Regions from separate parts of the Homo sapiens genome. Here region 1 is linked to region 2. Evidence: promoter capture Hi-C in 16 types of primary human blood cells and fetal thymus (Javierre and others, 2016). All regions are on one chromosome and are shown on one strand. The core of a region is centred on a gene start or on the middle of the fragment in contact, and the rest is flanking DNA. Distances in the headings are between cores, read along the strand shown.

Region 1 (7,047 bases), core at 3,096-5,595, 3.2 Mb after region 2:
TTGGGAGGCCGAGGCGCGTGGATCACAAAGTCAGGAGATCAGACCATCCTGGCCAACACAGTGAAACCCCGTCTCTACTAAAAATGCAAAAAAAGTAGCCGGGCGTGGTGGCAGGCGCCTGTAGTCCCAGCTACCCGGGAGGCTGAGGCAGGAGAATGGCGTGAACCCGGGAGGCGGAGCTTGCAGTGAGCCGAGATCACGCCACTGCACTCCAGCCTGGGCAACAGAGCGAGACTCCGTCTCAAAAAAAAAAAAAAAAAATCCAGAAAGCCAAAATCTGCCTACAAAATGCCCATTATCAGTCCAATCTACCTGACGCCTTTTCTACTGAGCTTAATCTGCCTCCCCATGCATTTCCGTAAAGTAGGCAATGACAGCTATTATCATTACTTAGGCTTTTCTCTTTTGGATAGCTGCTTTATCCAACCTCCTATTCTCCAATTCACAATTGAATTGGAAACAGCGTGATCATCGGTAGAGAGTGTATTGGGGAAAAATATTCCATGCAGATATTGGATAAACAATTTTAAAATTTATTTTGCTGGTACTCAGACACCCATGCTTGTCAATTTTATGTTAGGAGACCAAACTTTTTTATCATTTAGGCAGAATCCAACTCCATCCTTCCCCATACCCCATTAATGAGTAATGCATTGGCCAGGCTTGGTGGCTCACGCCTGTAATCCCAGCACTTTGGGAGGCCGAGGCAGGTGGACCACTTGAGGTCAGGAGTTCGAGACCAGCCTGGTCAACATGGCGAAACCTTGTCTCTACTAAAAGTACAAAAATTAGCCCAGTGTGGTGACAAGCGCCTGTACACCCAGCTACTTGAGAGGCTGAGGCAGGAGAATCACTGGAACCCAGTAAACGGAGGTTGCAGTGAGCTGAGATGGCGCCACACGCCGCTGTACTCCCGTCTGGGCAATAGAGCAAGACTCTGTCTCAAAAAAAAAAAAAAAAAAAGCATTAAGTGTGTGTAGCATTCTCTATTGCTTCCCATTTCCACTCTTCCCACTTGATCCAGTCTCCTTCTTTGCTGATAGAGACTTGATTTGTAAGGATGTTTACTCTCCAATTTATTCATTAATCATAAATCCCTTCCTTCATCCAGGGTCAGCTTAATCATAATAAATTCAAGTATCACCCTCCATTCATGCACATGTGGCAAAATCTAGTCGGAAGGGTTTGTGGATATTTTCCTCCATAATAAAAGCATTGTTTTAAAAAGAGACGGCCAGGCATGGTGGCTCACGCCTGTAATCCCAGCACTTTGGGAGGCCGAGATGGGCAGATCACCTGAAGTCAAGTCAGGAGTTCGAGACCAGTCTGGCCAACATGGTGAAATCTCGTCTCTACTAAAAATACAAAAAATTTTCCAAGCGTGGTAGCAGATGCCTATAACCTCAGCTACTGGGGAGGCTGAGGCAGGAAAATCGCTTGAACCTGAAAGGCGGAGGTTGCAGCGAGCCGAGATTGTGCCAGCCACTACACTCCAGCCTGGGTGACAGAGCGAGACTCCACTAAAAAAAAAAGAGAGAGAGATTTGAAAATAGTTTGTCTTCAGCACTGACGCTCTAATATCTGCATGGGATTCCGGGAACTGCCCTAGTAAGCACACAGTCGTGAAAGAAACATCACCAAAAATCTCAGGAACAAAGGCAGAAACCACCCATGGCTTCAGTGATCCGGTTGAGCCACTGTATCAAGAAATCCTGGAATGGCCTACCTGTAGGGCATTTAAAAAGTAATTTTAGTTGGGTTGTATTTTACTTATAGCTACAAGCATCTGAATTGATCCCAAGCATTCCGCAGTCTGATTTGGGCAACAAGTTACGTGTTTCTCCTCCAAGTAGCCATAGATTCCTGGTTTCATGCACCAGCACCGCTTCTTTGACTTTTGGTAGAGTCCCCAGGTCAGGTGGGTGCTGGGGAGGCTCCAAGTAACCTCAAGACAAACATGAGATGGAATACCTCATCTCCCTAGTCAATTTTACTCAAATAGAAATTTTTTGAATGCAAAATACCGTGCAGAAACATATTACAATAACCAACGACCATAAATTACAATGAAACTTGATTCACTTCTGAATCACTATTTACTTTCAGCCCTTGTTTTCTTACATGGTATTTGGGACTCAGAGGCTTCATGGTTGCAGCAGGTGTAAGCATGCACACAGGATTTTTTTTAAACCCATCAGGGAACTAAGGTTACAGGGCAACCTGCCACCCTGAAATCCAGAGAGAAGGTTACTCCAGGGAGATACAGCATGTAAGACACAGAGAAAAAGCCACTGGGCACCCTAGGCTGGAGGAAGCCCTAAGAGCTCGCTTTAGACAGGAATACCGAAATCTCATCCCATCTTGGGGGAGGGAAGTGCACCCAGTCCAGCGTCACTCCAGCCTTCTTGTGTCATAAACTTGATGACCTAGATGAAATGAGGCAATTCTTTGAAAGACACCAACTGCCAAAACTCACTCAAGGAGAAATAGCTACCTAAAACACCAGCCCCCGATGCTTTCACTGGTGAATTCTACCAAATATATATATATATTTTTTTGAGATGGAGTCTCTCTGTGTCGCCCAGGCTGGAGTGCAGTGGCGCGATCTCGGCTCACTGCAAGCTCCGCCTCCCGGGTTCATGCCATTCTTCTGCCTCAGCCTCCCGAGTAGCTGGGACTACAGGCGCCTGCCACCATGCCCGGCTAATTTTTTGTATTTATTTTTATTAGAGACGGGGTTTCACTGTGTTAGCCAGGATGGTCTCGATCTCCTGACCTCGTGATCCACCCACCTCGGCCTCCCAAAGTGCTGGGATTACAGGCGTGAGCCACCACAACCCAGCCTCTACCAAATTTTTAAAAAGAAATAGTACAAATTAACACTTTTTTTTCTGGAAAGTTTGAGGTTGGAATACTGCTTAACTCATTTTATGAAGCTAGCATATTCATATGAACACTACCTGATTCATTTATGAAGCTAGCATTAACCAAAACCAGATAAAGACATTACCAAAAAAGGAGACTATGGAGAAATACCTCTGATTAATTGAGACACAAATCTCCCTAACATATTTTAACAAATCATATCCAGCAATATATAAGAGGAACAATATAATGTGACCAAATGGGGTTCATTCCAGGAAGGCAAGGCTGATTCAACATTTATAAATACTGATGTATATAATTTATCCTATTAACAGTATAAATAAGAAAAAATATGATCATGTCAATAGATGTAGAAGATATATTCAACAAAATTCAACACCCATTCATGATATACAGTCTTGAAAACTAGAAATAGCAGGGATCTTCCTTAACCTAATAAAGGGTTTATATGAAAAGTTTGCAGCTAATTTTATTCTAAATGACTAGAGAAAGAATGCTTTCCCTCTAAAATCAAGACCGCATGACATTGGTGAAAGAGTAGCCACATAGATCAATGGAGTAGAATAGAAAACTCATTAATGAATGAACACAAATATTGTCAATGGATTTGTGGCAAAGGTGCAAAGGCAATTCAGTGGTGAAAGAATACTTTTTTAACAAATGATGGTGGAAAAATTGGATGTCCGTATTCAAAAAGTGAACTTTGACACAGATCTCACATCTTACACAAAAAGTGACTCAAAGTGGATTATAGAACTAAATATAAAATGCAAAAGTACAAAACTCTTAGAGGAAAATATGGGATAAATTTTCATGGCTTTGAGTTTGTTGACAAATTTTTAGATATGATAAAAAATACAACCCACAAAAAAATTGATAAATTGGACTTTATTAAAATTATGTTTCCCTCTGTGAAATTAACTCTTGAGGGAATGAAGAAACAAGCTTCAACCTTGGAGGATATATTTGCACGTCACATATCTGATAAAGGACCTGTATCCAAAATACACAAAGAACTCTTACAATTCAGCAAATAAAAACAAATAACCAAACTCATAAATAAGCAAAAGAATACCTTATATAACATGTTCAAGACACCTGTAGATAGTGTACAGCAAGTCCTTGTTTTAGACTTTTTTCTTCATTATATTATTCACTATTTATACAATTCCCAAATAGGAGTGTCTAGGAGCTTTTCTCATGAAAAAGAGGGAAGTGATCTAAAATTACGAAACTGAAGCCTGAGACTAAGATTACACATTTTACACACATGCATATCACTATTTTTCATTCTAAAATGAGTGTTTTTCTATATCAGAGAAATTATATTCAATTCCATTTTGTAGGACTCTATAGCAGAGCCTCTCCGATATGAACCTGTTTAATTTGTATAATGTTGATAATTATTTTCCATTCACAATAACAACAACAAAGGCTTTTTACACTATATAGTTTTCAGCAACAAACTGCAGTCACTTCAGTGTCTAGCTCCGAGGTCTATGAAGTAGAGTTTATCGGGCCATCTAGTGGCCACTAGATCAACCAACAGTTTTTTGTATTTTCTGTTACTGTGAACAACTACAGGCTTCACTAAATTTACACTAAGTCTAAAAAAGCTAAAACTAGACCTCCCTGCAGACTGTCTACAACTGTCCTGAACATAACATAATTCATGACCCATATGTTTTGCTAATGTAACAATTGTATTGTATCTTTGTGGTATTGCACCTTACACGGGGCACCAGTTGAGGTATGGCGTCTTACCAGAGGGCATTAGCTGCGGGGGTTTGCCCGCAGACCCTGACCCAAAAGACGGATGAATAAAACGTACATTGACATACAGATACTTTGTTTCGCCAGTCCAGCTGAGCGTCCGACTGCCTGCACACCAGGAGAGGTTTGTCACTGCGGCTGGTCCTGAGCAGCTTGCACTTCAGGCATTTATTTAGTATACAATGAACAACAGAAGCTTTGAGTAAACACACTTGAGGATAATTAACATGGTTAAGAAAGTAGTTTTACAAATGATTAAAACTTAGGTACTACGGTTTAAAGTAAATACCATTAGGGGGCAATTTCCCTAGTTGACCTCCCCGCCCCTACCCCCACCCACAACCACCCAGAGGGCCATTTGGCTTAAAGATTAGTTAATGGAGGTAGGGTAAACAGAAGTAACTGGGGAATCCTCTATTGTTCCTAGTATTTACCCTATGACCTAGTGCTCTAAGGTAAGAACCGGCTGCCTTTAGCCTGTTCAATTATTACAAGCTATTTAAGCTTTTGGCCTTTCAAAAGATTTGTGATTATTTCCTATAACTTTCCCTAATATTCCCTTTAATATTTTTGCCATTATCCTAAGTGACTCACAACAGATCTTAATATAATTATTACATAAATGTATAATCCATATTTTTTAGACCTGATTAATTGAATGATTCAGTGGGATATATCAATTTTTCCTCTTTCCATTGTAATAAATCTTGTTTAAGTCACTAACATGTCTTGCCTGGAAGATTATTATCTCCTAACTGGTCCCTTGTCATCCTCTCTGGATTCTTAAAATTCATTCAACAAAGAGTAACTCAATCTTTTAAAGACCTGTGTATCATAGTAAGATCATGGATTTTCTCTGCTTAAAATTTTCCAATGAGGTTTCATCACAATTATAATGAAATGTGAACTCCTTTTCACTGTTTACACAGTCCTGTGGGATCTGGTCTCCACACTCCTCTTAAACTTCATTTCCTACCACTCTCCTCTCCATTCACTAGAAACCAGCTATATTATTTTTTGTCGTCGTTGTGTGTTGTTTCTTAAACACATTCTCCCAGACTTTGGGCTTTGGGTGTGTTGTTTGTCTAACTGGAATAATTGGTGCCCACATACCTACATGGGTTGCTTCTTCTCTAAAACCATGGGTGGTTGCAGACCAAATACCATGTCCTCAAAAATGTATTCCTTCTTAGTTACTCAGAAATTAAACACCAGCTGCAATCAAAGAAACTCGCAAATCTCAGTGGCTTAGTTATATATTACATTATATTAATCATGTAAACTTCAGTATGGGTAAAGGGGAGTGAAGACTGAGAAGTTCTGTTCCATGAACCATTCAAGGACTCACTCGGGCACCGATCCTTTTATGACTTGGCTCTCTTCCTGGTTCTCAGAATCCATGCCGTTCACCTGTCAGAGAAAGTAAAAGAGTGTGGAGGATTATGTCAGAGATTTTTATAAACTGTATTTGGGAGTGGAGTACTTTATTTCTACCTATATTAGTTGGAATTCAGTCACATGACCTCAACTAACTGCAGCTAGGGATGGTATATGTGGGGCAGCTGTGTGCCCAAGAGAAAACAGGATTTGATGCGATCACAGCGTTCTCCTCTGCCATGGTAGCCCTTGTGTTTATCAAATATCCACTTTACACTTCCTTTTAAATGTTGAACACACTCTCCCTAGAGGAGACAATCCAAAATTCACCTACGTATTGAATCCAGCTCAAAGTTCAGGATTTCAGAATTATACTCAGCCTTCTCCACCAAGTTCTGCCGTGGTTTGTCAAGGTCAGGGACCCAGGAACTAAAAAGATAAGTTATGTTTCAAACAGCCAATAGGGGGAAGCAAAAAATAACCATAATGAGAATTCTCGTTTGGAAACGAAAAGGAGGCACATTACCGTTATGGACTCACAGGAATTACGGAATCTTGCTGGTACTTGATGATGTGTCTGTGAAGCAAGTGGGAATTAGTATTCCAGAAGAGCAAATACATGGGATAGAATTTTAGTTGCCACCTTTTCAGGTAAGATGGGATAGAAATGGAGTCCCTGAAATAAGAAGTATGTTTCTGTACATTTCAATACTGAACCAAGAAAGGACATGTGGCTTGATGATACGTTGAAATATTTATCTGGGTGTTTCACATTTTTCCTCTCCCTCTTCCCATGTGTACTCTGAGGGTCAGACCACTTGCAGACATGAGTCACCTACTTTGAAGGAGCAACCAGAACTCTGACTCCAAAGAGTAAAACTTGATAACGGAAAAGACAGTGAAAAGAAATATTCTGTTTCACACTTACAGAGTTAGTTTTAAAATGGTCCTAAGAGGTGAAGAGAACATGCTGATGGAAGAAAGAACGGAATGGATAAAATTTGATCTCGA
Region 2 (6,979 bases), core at 238-2,737:
CTAATTAATGTATTTGAGATCCAGGCAGACATTGTCCCTGGGCTCAACGACTAACCTTCCTGAAAACACGCATTTCTCAGTATGCGCATAACGCAAATAGGTGCTCACAGGCATCCGAACAGTATGCTTCGAAAAGAAGCATTTTCCCAAGAAGCCCCCCCAACCCCCATCCCCCGCAAACTCCGGAATTGGGAGACACAACAGGTACTTCCACCTCGGAAGCGAAGGCCTTCTGCGACTCCTGCCAAGAAGGGCAGGGTGCCATGCGGTGGTCGCCTGGGCGCGTCCGGGGGGCTCGTCGCGGGGCCCGGGCCAGAGCCAGGCGGCGAGCACGCGGCGCTGCATGCGGGAAACCCGGGCGGCGCCTCCCGCCGCCCCTCAGCCCCGAGCCAGGGACCCCCAGGAGAGGCTGCGCTCCCACGACCCTCCGGACCCCCACAGAGGCTCACCAGGGCCGGCGCGCCAGGGCAGGTGGGCGCGGGGGCTGCACTGCGGAGCCGCAGCCTGGGTCGCCCTGGCACCCGCGGTCGCCACCCGCGCGGTCCGCAGCGGCACGCCGAGGGTCTCCAGCTCCCCGGCCCTCCCCGGCTCGCTCCCGGCTTTCGCAGACTTCCCCTGCTCCTGCCCCGGGTACGAGCCAAGCGCTCCGCCAGGCAGCGCCTTCCTCCTGGGCTGGGAGCGCGCGGTGCAGCAGCGACTCCAAGTCCCCTGGCCTCGAGCAGCCCGCGCGACACGCGCGCGACACCCCCGCGGGGTCCGAGTCCACCCCGCGAGCAGCGCCGGGACGCCGCGCGCCTCAGAGCCCCGGGGCTGACGCTGGCTTTCCAGGTGGGCGATCTCACCCCTCCGGCTCCCGTGATGGTGGCAACGGGTGTCCCCCACCCCCAACCGGTCACCGCGCCCTGGTGCCCCGTCCGGCAGGGATGAGCCGCCCGGACCCCGCTCTCTCCCGCGCCCGGCTTCAGCCCCGCAGTCGCCAGGGTAAAGTTTGCGCTCTGGCCTGGCTGCGCGCCCCGCCTGCTCTGCACCTCTCCTCCCCGGCCACGCAGCCTGCCGCTCAGGCGCCCCGAGGAGAAGGGTGCGGACCGAGCCGGGGCGGCCGGTCCTCTTCCCCGCTCGCGTCCTCTTACCCCACTGCCCCGGCCCAGCGCGCCCAGGGCTCACCCTGCGCGCCGGCCCCGGGAGGCGAGCCGTCGGTGAGGATGCATCCTCCTTCTCCTCCGCCTGCTCTCGCCCGGCTGGCAGGCGCGGAAGGCCGGTGCGGCGTCACCGCCCCATGCTGCCAGCGCGAACTTCCCCGGCACTCCCGGCGGAGCGGCTCTTGCGCCCCGCGCTCCCGCCGCCGCCCTGCAGCTCCGCTCCGCGCCGCGCCCCGGGCCGCGCGCCGCCCGCCGCAGAGCCCCCCAGCGCCCCCGGCGCACTCGCGCCCGCTCTCACCTCGCCCGAGCGCCACATGTCGTCTCTGGGCTGGAGGATCGGCCCTCTGCAGAGGTGCTCCGGTAGAGGCCGCCAGACGCTCAGCAAATGCGCCCTTGGCCGAGCTGGGCGGAGGGGGAGGGCGCAGGGCCCCCGGCTCGGCCTGCAAGGGGAGAGGCCCTGTTCTGCTGAAGTTTCTCCAGGGCCCTCAACAGCATCTTCGGCGCCTCGTGTAGTCACCACCGCCCGCTTGTAGAGCAGGGATGGGAGGGCAGTGTCAGCAGTCGGGTGATAGAGGCCTGGACTCCGACAGCTTTGCTCCCTAGAGCCGGCCCCAACGCCTCCCTGCCCAGGCCTGGGTCCTTCCCGGGTGCTCCATGGCACCCCTTACATGCGCATCTCTTAGGCGCTTCTGAAAGAAGCTGGCCTGTGGACATTCTTTTCATCTCACTCATAGACAGGAATGCATAACTACGGGAGGGAAAGCCAGGGTCACATTGGACTCGATTAGAATGAAATCCTTACCTAACGCAGTGTATATCTGGGGGTTTTCTGAAGTTCCATTTCTTGACAACAAGCCGCAGTGGCAAACGGGAAAGGGCCAGGAGCCCTGGGGGCTGCAGGTCGGAGAGCGCCTCTGGGGTGACGGGGCGGGATCTCCCCAGCAGGGCTTCCGAGCCACGTCGGGTCACTGCCTCATTAGCCACGTACATGGGGTCTTACTATGGTCATTACGTCGGTGTGTCGTCCGTCCTAGTGGTGCAGTTCCTGGGAGGTGAGGGTGGCATTAATGACAACTGCGCGGCAGCAGGGCCCCTTCAAACAACACAAGTAAGAGCGCATCGTCTTGGGTTTGCCAGGTCTTGCTTCCTCAGGAGGTGGGGGACTCTCGACTATAACACCCAGTGGAAAACGTTCAAGACTCAAAGGAAAGCCACTGAAAACGTGATGGGGAGGTTTACTTACACCATTGTCCCATTCCTTTTGTGAAACTGCATTATTCATAATCTCTTTTAACAGAATAATGGTAAGTAAAGGCAAATTCCTAACTCCCCTCCAGGAAAGATCTTTGACCTTCCAGTGTAGGAAGCCTCTCATTTTTCCAGTTATCTCTAATACAGTGTATTCCAAATCTAAGTTACCTGTTAATACTTCTGCACATTCCAGAAATTCTGAAATTTTCTGAAAAACAAAACTTGTAAATCTATTCCAGGAATAGGACATAAATATACATAAATGTGCAAATATACAGGAAGTGTTTCTCTGAATATACATTTAGCCACACTATTAAATAACTGTTTCCAGTGGTTCTTCAGGAAATATGAATGAAATAAGATGCTAATTTGAATTTTCTAATTCTAAAATGGATCACTGAACGTATGCATTTCTTCATTTTCTAATTTCCCAAAAGATGTACCACTAGGGTGAAATTCCTTGGGAGACATTAAATTTTAAAAAGTTAACAACATGGTTTTATGATCAGCCTAATATAATTTTCACCTATTAGGTGTTGGAATTCTAACACCTAATACCAGCGACAGCTGCTCTTCTCTCAGGATTAAACAGCATAATGCAAATCAAAGAGTTGGAAGAATTGGTAAATTTTAAACTTCACAGCTTGTCACACAAAGTCATTCGGTGTGAGTTTGCAAAAATAAATGTATATAAACAAGGGATGATTTTTGTATTAGCGAGGGTTATAGACATTAATTCTTAATAATAAAAGAAATGTCAGCTGTAAGGAAATATGTTCTTTTGATGGATTATGTTTAAAACTTCCACTTTTTTTGGTACACTTTCTATCAGCTTTATGTCCACACAACACATATTATTGAATATATAAAAATCATTTTAAGTTAGAGTCATTCTTTAACATTGTATTTCAGCATGTTGCTTAAATTCTTTTCTCTTCCCTGTAATGAAACGGTATGCCACTCTCTCTCCTCCTAGTGTTTATGTAACATAACATAGCCTCACTTTAGATGGACTGCCCTGAGGGGACAGTGAAATCGTAAGGCCCATCAGAACCTTACAGAAACTCACATTGCTAGAAGAGTGCTTACTACCATTTCAATGATTTTTGTTTTACTATAGAATTCTGTATTTGTGCTGAGAAATAATAGGCTATCCGTTGAATTCCCATTTGTTTCATTAGCATTTTCTCTTCATTGAATGAAATTAAGCAATGTCGTGATCGTTGTGGAAGACAGTAGAGGGCACCCTAGTTCCACACAACCTCAGCCTTGGCCCGGGCTTCATAAGAATTTCATTTCCAGTGTCAGAGCCTAAAATAGCTGAAGGTGGGGAAGCTGGGCCATGAGTAGAACACGTGTTCACAGAGCACCCACCCTGTACCCCGGTCAGGGGCAGGAACTGAGACAGTGGCTGTGTTTGCGTGGTTGGGTGTGGTAAATGTGGCTGAGACATGAACACAGTGCCATGGTATAAGTGAGATCATGTGCTATTTGTCTTTCTGTGCTTGGCTTATTTCACCAAGCATGTTCTCCAGGTTCATCCATGTGGTCAAAAATGGCAGGATTTCCTTCTTTGTTAGGGCTAAATAATATACTGTCGTATATGTATGTTATACATATACGTGTGTGTGTGTGTGTGTGTGCGTGTGTGTGTGTACGTATCTCACAGTTTCTTTATTCATTTATCCATTGGCAGATGCTTAGGTTGTTCCATTATTTGGCTATTGTAAAAAATGCCAAAATGAACATGACAGTTCAGATCTCTCTTTCAGATACTGATTTTATTTCCTTTGACTATATCCCCAGAAAGGGGGTTACTGGGTATATAGTGGTTGCCACGGGCTGGGAGAAGGAGAGACGGGGAGATGTGGGTCAAAGGGTACAAAATTTCAGTTATGCAAGATGAATAAGTTCTGGGGATCTACTATACAACATTGTGACTACAGCTAACAACACTGCGATATATACTTCACACTTGCTAAGAGGGTAGATCTTATGGGTTCTCATCACACACACAAAAGAGGGCAGCTCTGCGAGGTGATGGAAATGTGAGTGCATGTGATTGTGGTGGTGAAGTATACATGTATCAGTCATCAAGCTGAACACCTCAGAAACCAGATTTTACATCAATGAATGGATGAATGAACAGATCTACATTTCTGGATTTAAAAAAATAAAAAGAGAAGACACCCCACAGCTTTAAAAACATGGGGCATCCGTTCCCACCCTCCTGCATCACCTCCATTCTACTGACACCTGACATGGGTCCTTAGAAGAACATGGTCTATTCTTTTTCACACTTTGCCTCCTTTATGTAACTAGGAAAATAGAGGCATATGGGGCTTTTAAAATGATACTAAATTTTTTTCTAATTTCATTGTATCTATTTTATCTTCTTTAGTGTTTTATTTATCATATCTCTATTTTGCCATATTTCATTTTATTTTGTGATGGCTCTAGGGTTTACAGCAGGCATCTTTAACTCATCATAACCTATCTTTTTTCTCTTTTCTTTTCTTTTTTTTTTTTTTTTTTTTTGCGACAGAGTCTTGCTCTCTTGCCCAGATTGGAATGTAGTGGTAAAATCTCAGCTCACTGCAACCTCGAACTCCTGTTCTCAAGTGATCCTCCCATCTTAACCTCTCAACTAGTTGGAACTATGGGCATGCACCATCACACCCAGCTAATTTTTGAATTTTTAGTAGAGACCAAGTCTCACTATGTTGCCCAGGCTTGTCTTGAACTCCTGGGTTCAAGGGATCCTCCCACCTCGGCCTCCCAAAGTGTTGGGATTACAGGCGCGAGCCACCATGCCCGGCCTACAGTCTAACTTTAATTAACATAATACCATTTCATGTACAGTGTAGTGCATGCAACTTACAATAATATACTTCTTTTTTTCTTCCTGTCCTATTCACTCCTGTTATCACACATATGACTTCTGCATTCAGTGACTTATATTTTACTTTAACAATCAATTTCTTTTTTTTTTGGTTTTTAGTTTGTGAATGTAGAATATGAAGGTGCCAACTCTTGTTGACATGTCCTTTCTTTTTAAAAAAACATTCAGTAGATTTAAGGACACAAGTTGTTTTTGGTTACATAGATGAATTGGACAGTGGTGAAGTCGAGGCTTCTAGTGCATCTATCACCCAAATAGTGTACATTGTGCCCAGTAGGTAACTTTTCATCCAGTAGGTAATCTTTCACCTCCCTCCCATCCTTCTCCCTTCTAAGTCTCCAGCATTCATTACTCTGGATGTCCCTGCATACCCACAGCTTCGCTCCCACTTATCAGTGAGAACATGCAGTATTTGGTTATCTGTTTCTGAGTTACTTACTTAGGATAATGGCCCCCCAGTTCCATCCAAGCTGCTGCAAGTGATGTTATTTTATCCTTTTTTATGGATAAGCAGTATTCCATGGTATATATATGCACCAAATTTTCTTTATCCACTCAGTTGATGGGCACTTAAGTTGATTCCATATGTTTGCAATTGTGAATTGTGCTGTGATAAACATATATATACAGGTCTTTTTGATTTAGTGACTTCTTTTCCTTTAGATAGATACACAGTATGGAGTTGCTGGATCGAATGGTAGATCTACTTTTAGTTCTTGGAGAAACCTTTGTCCTGTTTTCTGTAGAGCTTGTACTAATTCACATTCCTACCAACAGTGTATAAGGACTCCCTTTTCATCACATTCTTGCCAACATCTGTTGTTTGCTGACTTTTTAATAAGGGCTATTCCTGCAGGAGTAAAGTGGTATCTTATTGCGCCTTTAATTTTCATTTCCTTGATGATTAATCATGTCAAGCATTTTTTCATATGTTCATTGTCCATTTGTACATCTTCTTTTAAAACATGTCTCTTGATGTCATTTGCCCTCATATGAATGGGATAATTTGTTTTTCTTGCTGTTTTGATTGAGTTCCTTGTAGAACAATCAATTATTTTTAAAATAGGTTTTCAAATGAGAAAAAAATTTTATTGGATATGACTTTAATTCTGCTCATAGAAAACCCTTCGTTACTTCCTGCAGCACAGGTGTTCTATGATGAGTTCTACAAACTTATTTCTCTGAAAACGTTTTTCTTTCATTTTTCACTTTTTAAAGATACTTTTTCTCAGTATAGAATTCCAAAATTCTGAAAATTTTTGAATGTATCTGTATGTATCTGTATATACAGATATTTTTATATGTACAGATGTTCACCAACTTACAATGGCTCAACTTATGATTTTTTACTTTACGATGGAGCAAAAAGTGATGTTTCGGGAGAAACTATACCTTAAGTACCCATCAACCATTCTGTCTTTGACTTTCAGTAAGTAGTCAATAAATTGCATGAGATATTCAACACTTTATTATAAAATAGGTGTTGCTTTAGATTATTTTGCCCAATTATAAGCTAACGTAAATGTTCTGAACACGTTTATGGTGGGCTAGGCTAAGCTATGATGTTTCGTAGGTTAGGTATATTAAATGCATTTTCGACTTATGATAGTTTCAGCTTGCAATGGATTTATCAGGATGTGAGCCCATTGGTCAAGAAACAAATACAGTCATACAATGTAAAATGACA

Evidence for each region. Contacts are between HindIII fragments. The CHiCAGO score rates a contact against its expected background, and 5 or more counts as called.
Region 1: a contact is called between a fragment that was not itself captured here and the fragment with the promoter of GABRA5 in region 2, in 2 of 17 cell types (M2 macrophages and M0 macrophages). The highest score is 7.4, in M2 macrophages.

What each region holds. Positions count from the first base shown.
Region 1 is chr15:23,626,788-23,633,834 of GRCh38, reverse strand. It overlaps LOC124903576 (a long non-coding RNA gene), which reads right to left and starts at 6,209. Exons shown (of 2, transcript XR_007064789.1): 1 at 4,718-6,209; 2 at 3,760-3,879. RefSeq lists an enhancer at 4,521-5,042. The HindIII fragment of the contact is 1,024 bases long and covers 3,834-4,857 here.
Region 2 is chr15:26,861,570-26,868,548 of GRCh38, reverse strand. It overlaps GABRA5 (gamma-aminobutyric acid type A receptor subunit alpha5), which reads right to left and starts at 1,487. Exons shown (of 11, transcript NM_000810.4): 1 at 1,438-1,487. The HindIII fragment of the contact is 16,322 bases long and covers 1-6,979 here.